Linked DNA regions of Homo sapiens: region 2 is linked to region 1. Evidence: promoter capture Hi-C in human tissues and cell types (Jung and others, 2019). All regions are on one chromosome and are shown on one strand. The core of a region is centred on a gene start or on the middle of the fragment in contact, and the rest is flanking DNA. Distances in the headings are between cores, read along the strand shown. Region 1 holds the start of USP53 (ubiquitin specific peptidase 53). Region 2 overlaps SEC24D (SEC24 homolog D, COPII component).

Region 1 (3,917 bases), core at 1,418-3,917:
TGCCAAGCCTGCTCCCTTTCATGATCTCTTTGCCTGTGTGAGGTGCAGAGATTGGTCTTCACAAATTTGGGTCCAGCCAATCAGAAACTAGGGAATCAAACCCACACACGTCCCTCAAGGACAAATAGTAAGAATTAAAATATTTTAAATCCTTGTTGTGACTTTCCCAATTACAAATTTTCTGGGAGCAACAGCTGTCCTGCAATGTCAATTTTCCATTTTTTCATGTTTGCTTCAGACTCTGCCCTCTTGATGCTTAAATTGGGTCCTATTACAACTCTACCATTTAAGGATCGGTACATAGATATGCTAAAAACTGGTAGAAAGTATGAAATTATATAATTTTAAAAGTGTATAGTCAGGGTTTAGTCAAATTCTTGAGCAGGGTGAACTGAAGGGTATTCTTCTGTAATTGCTAAATAAGGAAGGGAGGTAGTATAAGCCATTATTATCCACAGTTCAAATTATTTCTCAAGGGTGGAGGTGGGGGTTACTCTGTCAGGTACATTTGCAGAGAAATAAATATAGTACAACATAATTGTTATAAAAATAAGTCCCAAAAGGGATGACAATTTTGTCTCAGAAAGTTATGAAAAGATCCATGGAGATAAGCATTCGAGAGAGAACCAAAGGATCTTGAGAGAACCAAGAACATAGAAAGCAAGGACTTTAGAAAGATTAATGTGGAGGAACTGGAGGAAGAATGGCGATGAGTTTAACAGTGTGATCATGAAAGGCCCTGCCGGTGGGTAATGAAAAATTCTTAGCAGAGAAGTATAATGATCGTATTTTCACGTTAGAAAAATTATTAATAGAATGGAGGTTGGACTGGTGTGGGAAATAACTAGAGGATATCTTGTGAATATTGCAATAGTACAAGGAAGATGAGTCATAAGAGATGGTGATTACTTGAAGGACTAAGACAGTGAGAGTGGAGGGGTGGACCTGAGAGATACTTAAGGAAATAAGAGTCAAAATTTGATATTAGAAAAGAGGAAATGAAGGAAAAGTAACAGGGGTACTCATAGATTTCTGACTTGGGCAGTTGCGTGTCATTTTCTGAAACAGGGAATGGAAATGGTGTAGGTTCCAGATGGGTGAAGAGGGACATGGCATCAGGAACAGATTATAGTAAAGATGTCCATGTCAATTTGGGACATATTTAAGATACTGTGTGAAATCCAAAGGATGTTGCTTAAAAATGTCCGACGTATAGATATACACCTGAGAGTTCTTGGTGCACAGGACACGTGGTAGGTAAATCCATGATGGGAAAGAGACTGCTCAAGGAGACATGGATTAACATTAAACAGAAACAGCAAAAGAAAATGGAGTGCTGGCGAACAGAGACCACGCAGCGGAAAAACAGTATTTAAAGTGCACCAGAAAAGTAGCTGCAGAATGAGGAGAAAATGACATTAGAGAAACGGAGGGAAGAGTTAATGGTGTGCTCTTATTGTTTTAAAAATGCAGAGTAGGATCTTTTTTTCCCCCACCCCTCCCAAAGTTTTTAATATTTTGAGGGCAGAAACCACGGCTTTATTTCATCCTATTTCTGACAGTGCCTAGTTCAGTAAAGGGAACATAGTAAATGCTCAATAAATTCTTAATGATTCAGCCTCAGACATTACAAACGGGTCCTATTTGTCTCCTGTATCAACGACCAATATTTCTTCCCCCTCTTTCTTCAAATAAACTTTTAGAAGTGCCTCTGGGTTTACTGAAATCCATTTTTACAATTAGTATGTTCAACTTACACCAGCTTTGGAATGAGTTCCAAAACCTTCTTTATTTACTTGAGAGATATTCGGTATCAGTGACGATGGGTTTTTCCTTTACTACTATTCCTAAGAAAGGTTTATTCAAAATCAAAGTTTAGCCCAATTCCCAGCAGTACCTTTTAACTTAAAACCTGTTCGAAAGCACGGCAAAGAGGCGGACAGACTTTTCTGACAATCATTAACCAGGTCAACAGACTTATTAAAGCTATCTAATTAAAGGCAAGAAACAACTGCTTGGGGAATACACATTCACGCCACAGGAAGCCATTTAACTGCAAATAGATCGTCTAACGACTCACGGAAATCTAAAGGAAACTGCGTGTCCGCATGGGGTTCTGATGCCAAACTACGGATTGTTCTCTCAGGTAACACCTAACCTAAGTGAAGTCCTTGGTGGATCCGCGTTCTTGAGCTTAGAAAATACCGAATGAACTACCAAGAGCACCAGAATAATCGCCTCCTCCTGAAGAACTAGCCTCTTTCTCACCACACCAGACAGCACGTCCTACAACCACCTTTCCCCCAACAACCAAACTCCAGCGCCAAGCTGCCGCTTTTGCAGAAATGTTCTATCTCTTGGTCTCGCGCGATCTCGCGCCTCCGAGGAAGCCAACTGTATCGCGCACGCCATCAAATCCCCGCGGGAATAGAATTCCGCAGGTCCAGAAAGCCGGGAAATCGCGAGCGGAGGCGGAGTTACCTCGGTGAGCGTGAAGGCGGAGCCCGCTCCGAGGGGCGGGCTCGAGGCGGGGAGAGGGGCGGGGCTCCAGGGACCTGTTGATCGCAGGTGTCACTGGCCTGACTGGTCCCTGGGTATTGGGGCGTATGCGCATGCTCCGCTCACAGGGTCGGGCTCTGGGCGGCGGAGACCAGCCGCCTGTGCTCCAGTTCCCGGTGAGCCTCGGTACTGTGGCAGCAGTCAGTGTGTCTGGCGGGTGTCGGCGTGAAGCGGGGCTGGGCCAGCGGGAGGTAGCTCTGTGGGAGTGGAAGGCCTGTATTTCTCTACCTGGACCGCACGCTCCTCGCGCAAGGAGGGTAGAGCTCAAGGTAAGTCTCCGAAACTAGCCCTCTGGTTGGAGATCCAGAGACCTGCGACCCCCGCGGGCCTGACCGGGACACTCTCATTCTAGCCCCAGAGCTCGTCTCTCCCCTCGCAGCCCGGCGACCTCCTATGGCCCCGGCCCTCTGGGCACACACACACTCTCTTTGCTGGGCGGTTCAGACGCCAGAGGTCACGCAGCCCTTTCGCCCCTTCTCGCCGCGTCTGGCGGAGATGCCTCTGGCCAGGCTGGAGGCGCTCGCGAGGCGGGAGGAGGTGCTGTACTTGTTGGGTCCTGGATGTTATTGCTGCCGTGTTTGAGGGCGGCGACAAGCTGGAGTCCTGCTGGGATTGTGAGTAATACCCTTACTTGGCTCCTGCCCCTGGCTGTCCAAGCCACATTGCCTCGCCTGAGCACACAGTTTTTTACTTAAAGGGGTCCAGGATGGTTATGCTCCCTCCTTGGAGAAGAGAGATGACTGGACTCGTGAGATTCTTGGGGTGGTGGTTTCTCAGTGGTAGTGGTGATGTATATAAAGTTAATGTTTAGCTTCTAAAGGGCGGCTTACGGGGCATTTACCAAACTATTTTTAAACAGTGTTGGAGAACAGGAAGTACTTGCACAGGTGTAATAGGGAGGGTTTCTAAAACCTGCAATCTGAGGATGTTTTGAGGTTTGTAACCCTGCTACAAGGTTTTCTTTATCAATGCAAAGTATGCAGGGAATTACCAGTTGGACAGCAAAGTTTTCCGAAAGTTTCCTTATCTGGAAATAGATATATATATATATATATATGTGTGTGTGTGTATGTATGTATGTATAAATATATATATTTGCAAAGAATATCTAAGGCTATTTTTGAGGTAGGTTTAATAGTAAACTTAACCTGTAGTCCCAGCTACTCGGGAGGCTGAGGCAGGAGAATTGCTTGAACCGGAGGTTGCAGTGAGCCGAGATCGCGCCACTGCATTCCAGCAGGGGCGACAGAGCCAGACTCCGTCTCCAAAAAACAAACAAACAAACAAAAAAACGCAGTACACTTAGGAAGGTTTTTGTGATTAAGATCTGATTCACTTTTAGTTATTAAAAGAAAAGG
Region 2 (4,047 bases), core at 1,239-3,738, 430 kb before region 1:
TCCCTCTACACACTGCTTTATATGTGTCCCAGAGATTCTGGCACATTGTGTCTTTGTTCTCATTGGTTTCAAAGAACATTGTTATTTCTGCCTTCATTTCGTTATGTACCCAGTAGTCACTCAGGAGCAGGATGTTCGGTTTCCATGTAGTTGTGCGGTTTTTAGTGAGTTTCTTAATCCTGAGTTCTAATTTGATTGCACTGTGGTCAGAGAGGCAGTTTGTTGTGATTTCTGTTCTTTTACATTTGCTGAGGAGTACTTTACTTCCAACTATGTGGTCAATTTTGGAATAAGCGTGATGTGGTACTGAGATGAATGTATATTCTGTTGATTTGGGGTGGAGGGTTCTGTAGATGTCTATCAGGTCTGCTTGGTGCAGAGCTGAGTTCAAGTCCTGGATATCCTTGTTAACCTTCTGTCTCATTGATCTGTCTAAAAAGTCTCCCATTATTATTGTGTGGGAGTCTAAGTCTCTTTTTAGGTGTCTAAGGACTTGCTTTATCAATCTGGGTGCTCCTGCATTGGATGCATATATATTTAGGATAGTTAGGTCTTCTTGTTGAATTGATCCCTTTACCATTATGCAATGGCCTTGTCCCTTTTGATCTTTGTTGTTTTAAAGTCTGTTTTATCAGAGACTAGGATTGCAACCCCTGCTTTTTTTTTTTTTTTTTTTTTTTTTGCTTTCCATTTGCTTGGTAGATCTTCCTCCATCCCTTTATTTTGAGCCTATGTGTGTCTCTGCATGTGAAATGGGTCTCCTGAATACAGCACACTGATGGGTCTTGACTCTTTATCTAATTTGCCAGTCTGTGTCTTTTAATTGTGTCATTTACATTTAAGGTTAATACTGTTATGTGTGAATTTCATCCTGACGTTATGATGTTAGCTGGTTATTTTGCCCGTTAGTTGATGCAGTTTCTTCCTAGCATTGACGGTCTTTACAATTTGGCATGTTTTTGCAGTGGCTGGTATCTGTTGTCCCTTTCCATGTTTAGTGCTTCCTTCAGGAGCTCTTTTAGGGCAGGCCTGGTGGTGACAAAATTTCTCAGCATTTGCTTGTCTGTAAAGTATTTTATTTCTCCTTCACTTATGAAGCTTAGTTTGGCTGGATATGAAATTCTGGGTTGAAAATTCTTTTCTTTAAGAATGTTGAATATTGGCCCCCACTCTCTTCTGGCTTGTAGAGTTTTTGCCTAGAGGTCCGCTGTTAGTCTGATGGGCTTCCCTTTGTGGGTAACCCGACCTTTCTCTCTGGCTGCCCTTAACATTTTTTCCTTCATTTCAGCCTTGGTGATTCTGGCAATTATGTGTCTTGGGGTTACTCTTCTCGAGGAGTATCTTTGTGGTGGTCTCTGTATTTCCTGAATTTGAATGTTAGCCTGTCTTGCTAGGTTGGGGAAGTTCTCCTGGATAATGTTCTGAAGAGTGTTTTCCAACTTGGTTCCATTCTCCATGTCATTTTCAGGTACACCAATCAAACACAGATTTGGTCTTTTCACATAGTCCCATATTTCTTGGAGGCTTTGTTCATTTCTTTTTACTCTTTTTTCTCCAAACTTCTCACTTTATTTCATTAATTTGATCTTCGATCACTGATACCCTTTCTTCCACTTGAAGGAATCGGCTACTGAAGCTTGTGCATGCGTCACGTAGTTTTCGCACCATGGTTTTCAGCTCCATCAGGTCATTTAAGGTCTTCTCTTCACTGTTTATTCTAGTTAGCCATTCGTCTAATGTTTTTTCAAGGTTTTTAGCTTCCTTGCGATGGGTTTGATCGTCTTCCTTTAGCTTGGAGAAGTTTGTTATTACTGACCTCCTAAAGCCTACTTCTGTCAATTCGTCAAAGTCATTCTCCATCTAGCTTTGTTCCATTGTTGGCAAGGAGCTGCAATCCTTTGAAGGAGAAGAGGCACTCTGATTTTTAGAATTTTCAGCTTTTCTGCTCTGGTTTCTCCCCATCTTTGTGGTTTTATCTACCTTTGGTCTTTGATGTTGGTGACCTACAAATGGGGTTTTGGTGTGGATGTCCTTTTTGTTGATGTTGATGCTATTCCTTTCTGTTTGTTAGTCTTCCTTCTAACAGGTCCCTCAGCAGCAGGGCTGTTGGAGTTTGCTGGAGGTCCACTCCAGACCCTGTTTGCCTGGGTATCACCAGCAGAGGCTCCAGAACAGCAAATATTGCAGAACAGCAAATATTGCTGCCTGATCCTTCCTCTGGAAGCTTCGTCCCAGGGGGCACCCACCTGTATGAGGTGTCAGTCAGTCCCAGTAGGTGTCTCCCCAGTTAGGCTACATGGGGGTCAGGGACCCACATGAGGAGGCAGTCTGTCCGTTCTCAGAGCTCAAACACCGTGCAGGGAGAACCACTACTCTCTTCAGAGCTGTCAGACAGGGATGTTTAAGTCTGCAGAAGTTTCTGCTGCCTTTTGTTCAGCTATGCCCTGGACCCAGAGGTGGAGTCAACAGAGGCAGCAGGCCTTGCTGAGCTGTGGTGGGCTCCGCCCAGTTTGAGCTTCCCTGGCTGGTTTGTTTACCTACTCAAGCCTCAGCAATGGGGTACAACCCTCCCCCCTGCCAGGCTGCTGCCTCACAGGTTGATCTCAGACTGCTGCACTAGCCGTGAGCAAGACTCCTTGGGTGTGGGACCCACCGAGTCAGGCATGGGATATAATCTCCTGGTGTACCATTTGCTAAGACCATTGGAAAAGCGCAGTATTTTGGTGGGGATGTTCCGTTTTCTCCAGGTACAGTCTGTCACGGCTTCCCTTGGCTAGGAAAGGGAAATCCCCTGACCCCTTGGGCTTCCCGGGTGAGGCGACGCCCCGCCCTGCTTTGGCTCACCCTCTGTGGGCTGCACCCACTGTCCAACCAGTCCTAATGAGATGAACCAGGTACCTCAGTTGGAAATGCAGAAATCACCCGTCTTCTGCGTCAATCACGCTCAGAGCTGCAGACGGGAGCTGTTCCTATTCGACCATCTTGGAACAGACCCCTGAGGGTCTGAATTTAAATGACACTTTCTCAATCAGGCCTGCCCTGAATACCCTATTTAACCTACAAAACCCATACTCCACCTCCTCCCAGGCAGACGTTATCCCCCAAGTCTGCTCTACTTTTTCCTTCCTCCATAGACCTAGATAACCTTCTTACCAGGTTCACTGTCTAGTCTCCATTAGAATGTAAGCTCCATGAGGGCAGAGATCTTTGTCTGCTCTGTTCACTGACATATCTCAAGTGCCAAGAACAGTATCCAGCACATACTGGGAGAACAATGAGTATTCATTGAATTGAATTGGTTATTCTTAAATTCTTTTTGAAATAAGGTGACATAAAGTTTTTCATAAAATGGTCATAGTTTATAAATTATCATATCAAATAACAATGGATTATTGTCCAGATTATGGTATATGAGATGACTGAAAACATCACTAAAATCCCAGGAGTGATTATACAAGTATAAATACAAGTATAAAACTGTTTCTGTAAAGAAGCTTAAGAGAACTCAAACCAAATGATCAATTCCCTTTAGAGTAGACACCTATGGAAGCTATGCATTTGTCCAAATATGTCTAAAACTTTTTCTACAAATTCCTTTCAGAGTGGAAAAAAATATAGGGCTCTAAAGGTCACACAGTTCAATCTGCTATTGACGTAAACACTGAAGACTGGCCAGGCATAGTGGTTCATGCCTGTAATACGAGCAATTTGGGAGGCTGAGGCGGGCAGATCACTTGAGCTCAGGAGATCAAGACCAGCCTGGCCAACATGGCGAAACCTTGTCTCTATTTAAACAGAAGAAAACACTGGTGACTAACCATCCCCTGTGCTCCGACTGGGCTACTTCCAGTAATACAGCAAATCATCTTTGGTGAGTTAATTTGATTTGGGCACACAGCCAAAAATCATTTGAAGGAGAGCATTTTTGAAAACAGGAATTTAAAAAGTTGAGAAAAAAATTTAATTTAAAAAACAGATGATCAATTCAAAAGCATTTAGAGAAATAAATACATTTATATATTTATTCTATATCAATAAACTGAAATA

The links. The method cuts DNA at HindIII sites, captures the fragments that hold promoters and counts their contacts. A contact is called where the count stands out against the background at its distance.
Region 2: a contact is called between a fragment that was not itself captured here and the fragment with the promoter of USP53 in region 1, in 1 of the 25 tissues and cell types used here (aorta).

The regions. Positions count from the first base shown.
Region 1 is chr4:119,210,046-119,213,962 of GRCh38, forward strand. It overlaps USP53 (ubiquitin specific peptidase 53), which reads left to right and starts at 2,668. Exons shown (of 19, transcript NM_001371395.1): 1 at 2,668-2,828. It overlaps LOC101929762 (a long non-coding RNA gene), which reads right to left and starts at 2,599. Exons shown (of 3, transcript NR_125931.1): 1 at 2,482-2,599. RefSeq lists enhancers at 1-430, 1,586-2,160, 2,283-2,402, 2,734-3,307, 3,013-3,062 and a silencer at 2,533-2,662. The HindIII fragment of the contact is 17,898 bases long and covers 1-3,917 here.
Region 2 is chr4:118,780,251-118,784,297 of GRCh38, forward strand. The region is part of intron 8 of SEC24D (SEC24 homolog D, COPII component); the gene reads right to left. Among named protein-coding and RNA genes, the nearest start is that of SEC24D, 54 kb to the right of the region's middle. The HindIII fragment of the contact is 4,654 bases long and covers 162-4,047 here.